2 separate regions of the Homo sapiens genome follow, and region 2 is linked to region 1. Evidence: promoter capture Hi-C in 16 types of primary human blood cells and fetal thymus (Javierre and others, 2016). All regions are on one chromosome and are shown on one strand. The core of a region is centred on a gene start or on the middle of the fragment in contact, and the rest is flanking DNA. Distances in the headings are between cores, read along the strand shown. Region 1 holds the start of AKR1C4 (aldo-keto reductase family 1 member C4). Region 2 has its middle 41 kb from the start of AKR1E2.

Region 1 (2,850 bases), core at 154-2,653:
GAGTAAAGACATACATTCCAAGGATGTAGATTTATACCTAAGAAATTAACTGCGACCTGTGAGAGATTAGTAAGGTACGCTTTATCCCTAAAAAATAAGACCAACTCTTTTAGAAACGATATAATTTCAGTGAAATTTAAAATTATTGACTTATCTACCAAATTTGGATAAAGATTTGAAAGGTATATTTTTTAAATGACAAAACCGTAAATGAAACAATTTTCTATTTTAATATAAGCTTTTCTGAAGCTTTCTTTTTCTAGTGAAATTAAAAGGAACTAGATGCCAGGTTGCACTACCTTCCCCTGATGCCAACCCTGATCCTCTGTTTGCTGTGCAGGCACTCAAGGTTTACCAAGGCTAGAGCTTCCGTGTTGTGCTTTTCCTTACTTCTCCTTCATGCCAATTTGCATTACAAAGTGAACCACTCCTGTCGATGGTCTTCAAGGTGTTTCTCTGTAAATTCTTACAACGTATAGTTGATCAAATTTAGACAAAAATTTTATGTGACTACTCCTTATTAACACACTTAGTAGTCTTGGAATACAAGTTTTCTTCCAGTGTAGAAATAGCTCAGTCTAGAAAAAATGTCTCCATTTTGCCCACTTCCGTGTCAGAGGGCCACCCCTATCATTTTGATACAAATCTGATGCATATTAACACGGACCAAAAATTTAAAATTTTTCTTGTGAGGTTCTAGGTTTTCCTTAGAATAAAGTTATTTTTCCTTTCAGATAATTTTCCTAGAGGTGAGAGTTGTGCAGGGCATTGTATTAAGTCCAGGACCAGTATTACTGTGTCATGCTCAAGACCACGCGGCAGCTCAGCAGTACTCTCCCAACAGTTTTCATACACCCCATCTTTAGGTGCTGTTACCACAAATGTTTCTTTTGATCACGTCTAGTAGAAGAATAAAAGATTTCTTCAACCACAGAAATAAATGGAGAAACCATTCTCACTGCAGTCATCTCCTAGAAAGGGAACTGCCAGGCAGTGTTCTTCACTGTTGAGTTTTATATATTCTGCCAAGCTGGGCAATACACAGAAACAGCATATAAAAACAGTGTATAAAATAAAAATAAGCAGTAAATTACCATATGACAGACCTCAGTGCAAAACAAACATTGACTACCTTTTCTCTTTGAACATAGAATAGCTCTAGCCCAGTAAGACAGACCACGTGAGTCACTCAGGGTAACAGAAACACAAAGCTGAACAACCCAGGTCATCGTTCACTTATTCTAGCTTTGCTCTTTTAAATGCTCAATGCTGAAAATGTGATTATTACCTCTGGAGGTGCATAGGTGCCAAATCCCAATACGGGCATGAAGTGACCATCATTTAGCTCTACACGCTGATATTTGGGATCCATTGCTTGCCACTTCTTTCACTAAGCAGATCCTGTTTCCTTCAGCAACATCTGGCATTTATATTCAGGGGTTATGTAAAACATGGGCAGGCAGTGCTGCACTGCTCCCTGGGGCTAATCAATGGCATGTAGGAGGAAGCAAGTGATGGTGTATTACACAGGCTGTGAGGAAAATTGAATCCAGTTCACTCGTTTCTTATCAAAGAGAATTTTTACATACATTATTATATAGTCAAAATATTTTTTTCTAAAGTGAAATTTTCTATTCAGAATCAATCAATCTCTCTCTCTGTCTGTCTGATAAACTCATCCAACAGGTTTATAGAATGATTGGTGATCATGTTAGACTATAAAATACCTCCAGCTACAAATCTTGTTTTTGTTCATGCCATGATGATATCCCATCTTTATCTTCTGTCATTTGAAATAATCAACCATCTTACATCTTTCTCTCAGACAGTATTCAAAAGAATGACCAGTGAGCATTTTTTTTTAGTGGTGACCCTCAATAAAGAAATTAAACAAAACCAAAGAAAATTTCTCTTTTTACGTTTTTCACCAACAAATTAATTTTGTTTCTTCTTTAATTGTAGTAGGAATATTCATTCCTGATGAAGGTGTGGTCCTGATGATGTGGCAATCCTGCAAAGGTTCAAAGGGAAAAGAAAACAGAAATTCTGACATGATGTTTATTGGAGTATTAATTATTAACAATGTTTGGACTTTGGACATCATTTGCAACATGCAAACAGTTCTTTAATAGTGTTTGTATCTTCCATCAGTTTTATAAGAAACCAGCAAAAGTAACTTCCCAAAAAGCTGATAACTATTTTATATAATTTGTGATCTTATTAAATGTTATAAAGAAAAAAGTAATTAAAATAAATTGGTGAATAATCCTCACATGGCATAATTTTACTTGTTTCTCCCATTGGAGGGCAGACTAGAACACGATGATTAGGCCGGGGGCAGTGGCTCACGCCTGTAACCCCAGCACTTTGGAAGGCCAAGGCGGTAGGTTTACTTGAGGTCAGGAGTTTGAGACCAATCAAGTGAAATCTTGTCTCTACGAAAAATACAAAAATTAGTCTGGAGTGGTAGTGGATACCTGTAATCCCAGTTACTCAGGAGGCTGAGGCAAGACAATTGCTTAAACTCAGGAGGCAGAGGTTGCAGTGAGCCAAGATTGGGTCACTGCACTCCAGCCTGGGCGACAGAGCAAGACTGTCTCAAAAAAAAAAAAAAAAACAAAAAACAAAAAACGAAGATGATTAACATCTGTGAAGAATCCATACCAATATCTGTTGTTGTCTGACATTTTAAGAATAGCCATTCTGACTGGTGTAAGATGATATCTCTATGTGCTTTTGATTTGCAACACCCTCTTTTCTTCTATTCACTTCTTCCTAAAAGGAACAATAAAAGAAAATAATTAGGTAAATTACTATACATTGAAGCAATGGAATATAATAGAGCCATTT
Region 2 (3,207 bases), core at 236-2,735, 330 kb after region 1:
CAATCGCTTCAGAAAACAAAAGAGGAGGGAACACTTCCCAGTTCATTTTACAGAGCTAGCATTACCCCAATATGAAAATGAGACAAAAACGGAAAGGAAGAAAGAAATAAAACTAAGAACAATATCTCTCAAAAATATAGATGTGAACATCCTCAACAAAATATTAGCAAATAGAATTTAAAAAAATATAAAAAGAATTATACACAAAAACCAAGTATAGCTTATATCAAGGATACAGGGCTGGTTCAATGTTCAAAAATCAGTTAATATAATCCATCATACTAAAAAACTAAAGAAGAAAGTCACATGATCATATCAATTGATGCAGTGAAAGCATTTGACAAAATTTAACATCCATCCATAATTAAAACTTTCAGAAAATAGGACTACAGGATAACTTTCTAAACTTGATAAAGAACATCTGCAATAACCTACAGCTAAGCTGAATTCTTTGTCCCTAAGACTGGGAAAAAAGCAAGGATGTCCACTCTCAGCACTCTTTTTAAACACAGTGCTAAAAGTTTTAGCCAATACAGTAAGACAAGAAAAGTAGATAAAAGGCATACATATCACAAGAAAGAAAACTGTTTCCATTTGCAGGTGACGTGATTGACTACATAGAAAATTCCACGGGCTTATGTCAGCAAGATAACTGACTAGAGGTTCCTACACTTCTCCCCACCCACAAAAACAGACCAAAGCGATGAAGAAACAACTACATTTTGACCAGAGCAACTAAAGGAGAGCTGTAGAGTCTTTAGATAATGGATGAGAGAAACTCTGTGGAGCAAAGAGACTCAGGATGGCCATATAGAGAAAGGAATAAAACACGCTGCCTCTGCCACTCTGTCATCCAGTCAGGATCAGCTCAGAACCAGGAAGAACTTCTCTCTGTGGGAAAAAAGTAAGCAACAGGAACCCAGAAGCTGGCATTGCCACCACAGACTGCTGTAGTCTTTGATAGTGGAGAATCTTACAGTATTTACAGGCCTGACCCCAGTTTAGGAAGCTGCCTGGAGTTTATACAGCTGCATTACTCCATAGAAAGAGCCCACATTATTTCCCAAACCCCCAACGATCCAGTCTCCTACTAAGCTGCACCATCTTAAAACTGGAGCCATTATTAGAGTGTGCCTGCTCTGGGGGCAGTATATATATCACAGTGAGGTTTCAAGAGTCACCAAAATAGGAAAGCTGCAAACTTGAAATGCTCCAAGGTTTTCGTTACAAAGATAAGAAAGACGGACCCTGAGGACGCTGCCTCTCGCTTTGACAAAGCCCAGACAATGAGTCACATCAAGTAACACATGGCTTGGAAAAGGAAGGAAAAACACTGGAAGGCCAACGCTGTTCTTATCACTGCTACACAGAGCTGAAAGCAATGTTAGAACTGTGGGTTAAAAAGAAACTAGTCAAGTTCTTCAACGGATGAATGGCGTTATCTTTGCCATGCAATCCTACTCAGCAATGAAAATAAACTGACTATTGGCACATCCAACACCTTGGCTGAATGGCAAGGTAATTGTGGTGACAGAGGAATGCCAGTCCAAAAAAGTTACATAGTGTGTAATTCCACTTATACTGAATTTGTAAAATAACAAAATTATAGGAATGAAGAACATACTAGTTGCCAGGGGTTAAGGAGGCAGCAGAGGCAGAAGACAGCTGAATGCAATTAGAAAATGGTGACAGGGAGGGCCCTCATGGTGACGGAAATGTTTTGTACCTTGACTGTGGAGATGGAAACGTGAATGTGTGAAAAATTGTACAACAGTGAACACACACACAGACACCAAGGAATGCAACCAAAACTGGAGAAGTCTAAGACAATATCAATATCAGTATCTTGGTTGTGAATCCACCTTTGCAAAATTATGACTGAGACAGTGAAAGAGATCTAACTTAACTGACTCCATCTTGCTTCTAACCTCCAAGTTGTCCTTGTTCATTCCTGATGGTAGGTTGAACTAACTTTGGGAGTAACTTAGTTTATAGTTTAAACAAAGATGGTAACAGCCCTTTCCCACAGCAGACCTCCTTCTTGCCTGGGGACTAGATTTGCCTTTGTAGGATTAACATTAGCCACAAGATTAGAAATTATGGTTGAGGAGTCATGCAGCTGGAGGCTACAAGATTCTGACCCTCCGTAAACTGCTCCTAAGTGCCTGGGTATTTTGCAGATCCTGCACTTGATGGATCAGCCGGCCCCACTCAGATCAGTAAACTGACTCATCTGATATTGTGGCCCCCACCCAGGAAATGACCGAGCACAAGAAGGCAGCTTTGACTCCCTGTGATTTCATCTCTAACTACTCAGCACTCCTGGCTCACTGGCTTCCCCCCACCCGCCAAGTTATCCTTAAAATCTCTGCTCCCGGAGCCTGCAGTGAGCCGAGATGGCGCCACTGCACTCCAGCCTGGGCGACAGCGAGACTCCATCTCAAAAAAAAAAAAAAACAAAAACAAAAACAAAACTCTGCTCCCTGAATGCTCCGAGAGACTGATTTGAGTAATAATAAAACACCGGTCTCCTGCACAGCTGGCTCTGCGTGAATTACTCATTCTCTATTGCAATTTCCCTGTCTTGATGAATTGGCTCTGCCTAGGCAGCAAGCAAGGTGAACCCCTTGGGCAGCTACATTTGTGATAACTTACTATATAGGTTTGCAAGATGGTAATATTCAGGGAATCTGAATAAAGGGCAGACTCTGAATTATTTTTTGCAACTTCCTGTGTATCTATAATCATCTCAAAATGCAGTTTAATTTAAAAGAAAACCAGAAAACTGGTTCCAGTGCTACGCGTCCTCTCTTTGGATTCTTTTCTAGTCCACCGTCAAAAGAATGTGGATGTGGCTCTAGATTTAACCCCTCCTACCTTTTATTATGTAATTCAAACATAAAATCTGTCTCAGAGCACAGGAAGGAGGAAGTGGAAATGATAAAGAGGATCACTTTGCTGAAATATAATCAGACCTATTTAGCCTGGACAGTGAAAAACAATGGCCCAATATACATGCTGTTCTCTGAAACTGAATGACAGAAACTTCACGTCTGTCCTGGGATTTGGTACTGCTAGTTACAAAACAGTAAGAATTCAGTAAGTTTGAGAGAGAAGGAGATTGACCAAAAGAACCCTAGGGGAAAACAATCCTTTCTAGAAATTGTTTTCAACATAAAATTTAAATTTTCCCCCAGAATTCCAAAT

The links. The method cuts DNA at HindIII sites, captures the fragments that hold promoters and counts their contacts. A CHiCAGO score of 5 or more calls a contact.
Region 2: a contact is called between a fragment that was not itself captured here and the fragment with the promoter of AKR1C4 in region 1, in 1 of 17 cell types (M2 macrophages). The highest score is 5.3, in M2 macrophages.

What each region holds. Positions count from the first base shown.
Region 1 is chr10:5,195,390-5,198,239 of GRCh38, reverse strand. AKR1C4 (aldo-keto reductase family 1 member C4) reads right to left here and starts at 1,403. Exons shown (of 9, transcript NM_001818.5): 1 at 1,289-1,403. The coding sequence starts at 1,372. The HindIII fragment of the contact is 18,750 bases long and covers 252-2,850 here.
Region 2 is chr10:4,865,896-4,869,102 of GRCh38, reverse strand. It overlaps a transcript of AKR1E2 not described here. Among named protein-coding and RNA genes, the nearest start is that of AKR1E2, 41 kb to the right of the region's middle. RefSeq lists an enhancer at 1,172-1,466 and a cis regulatory region at 2,149-2,424. The HindIII fragment of the contact is 3,641 bases long and covers 1-3,207 here.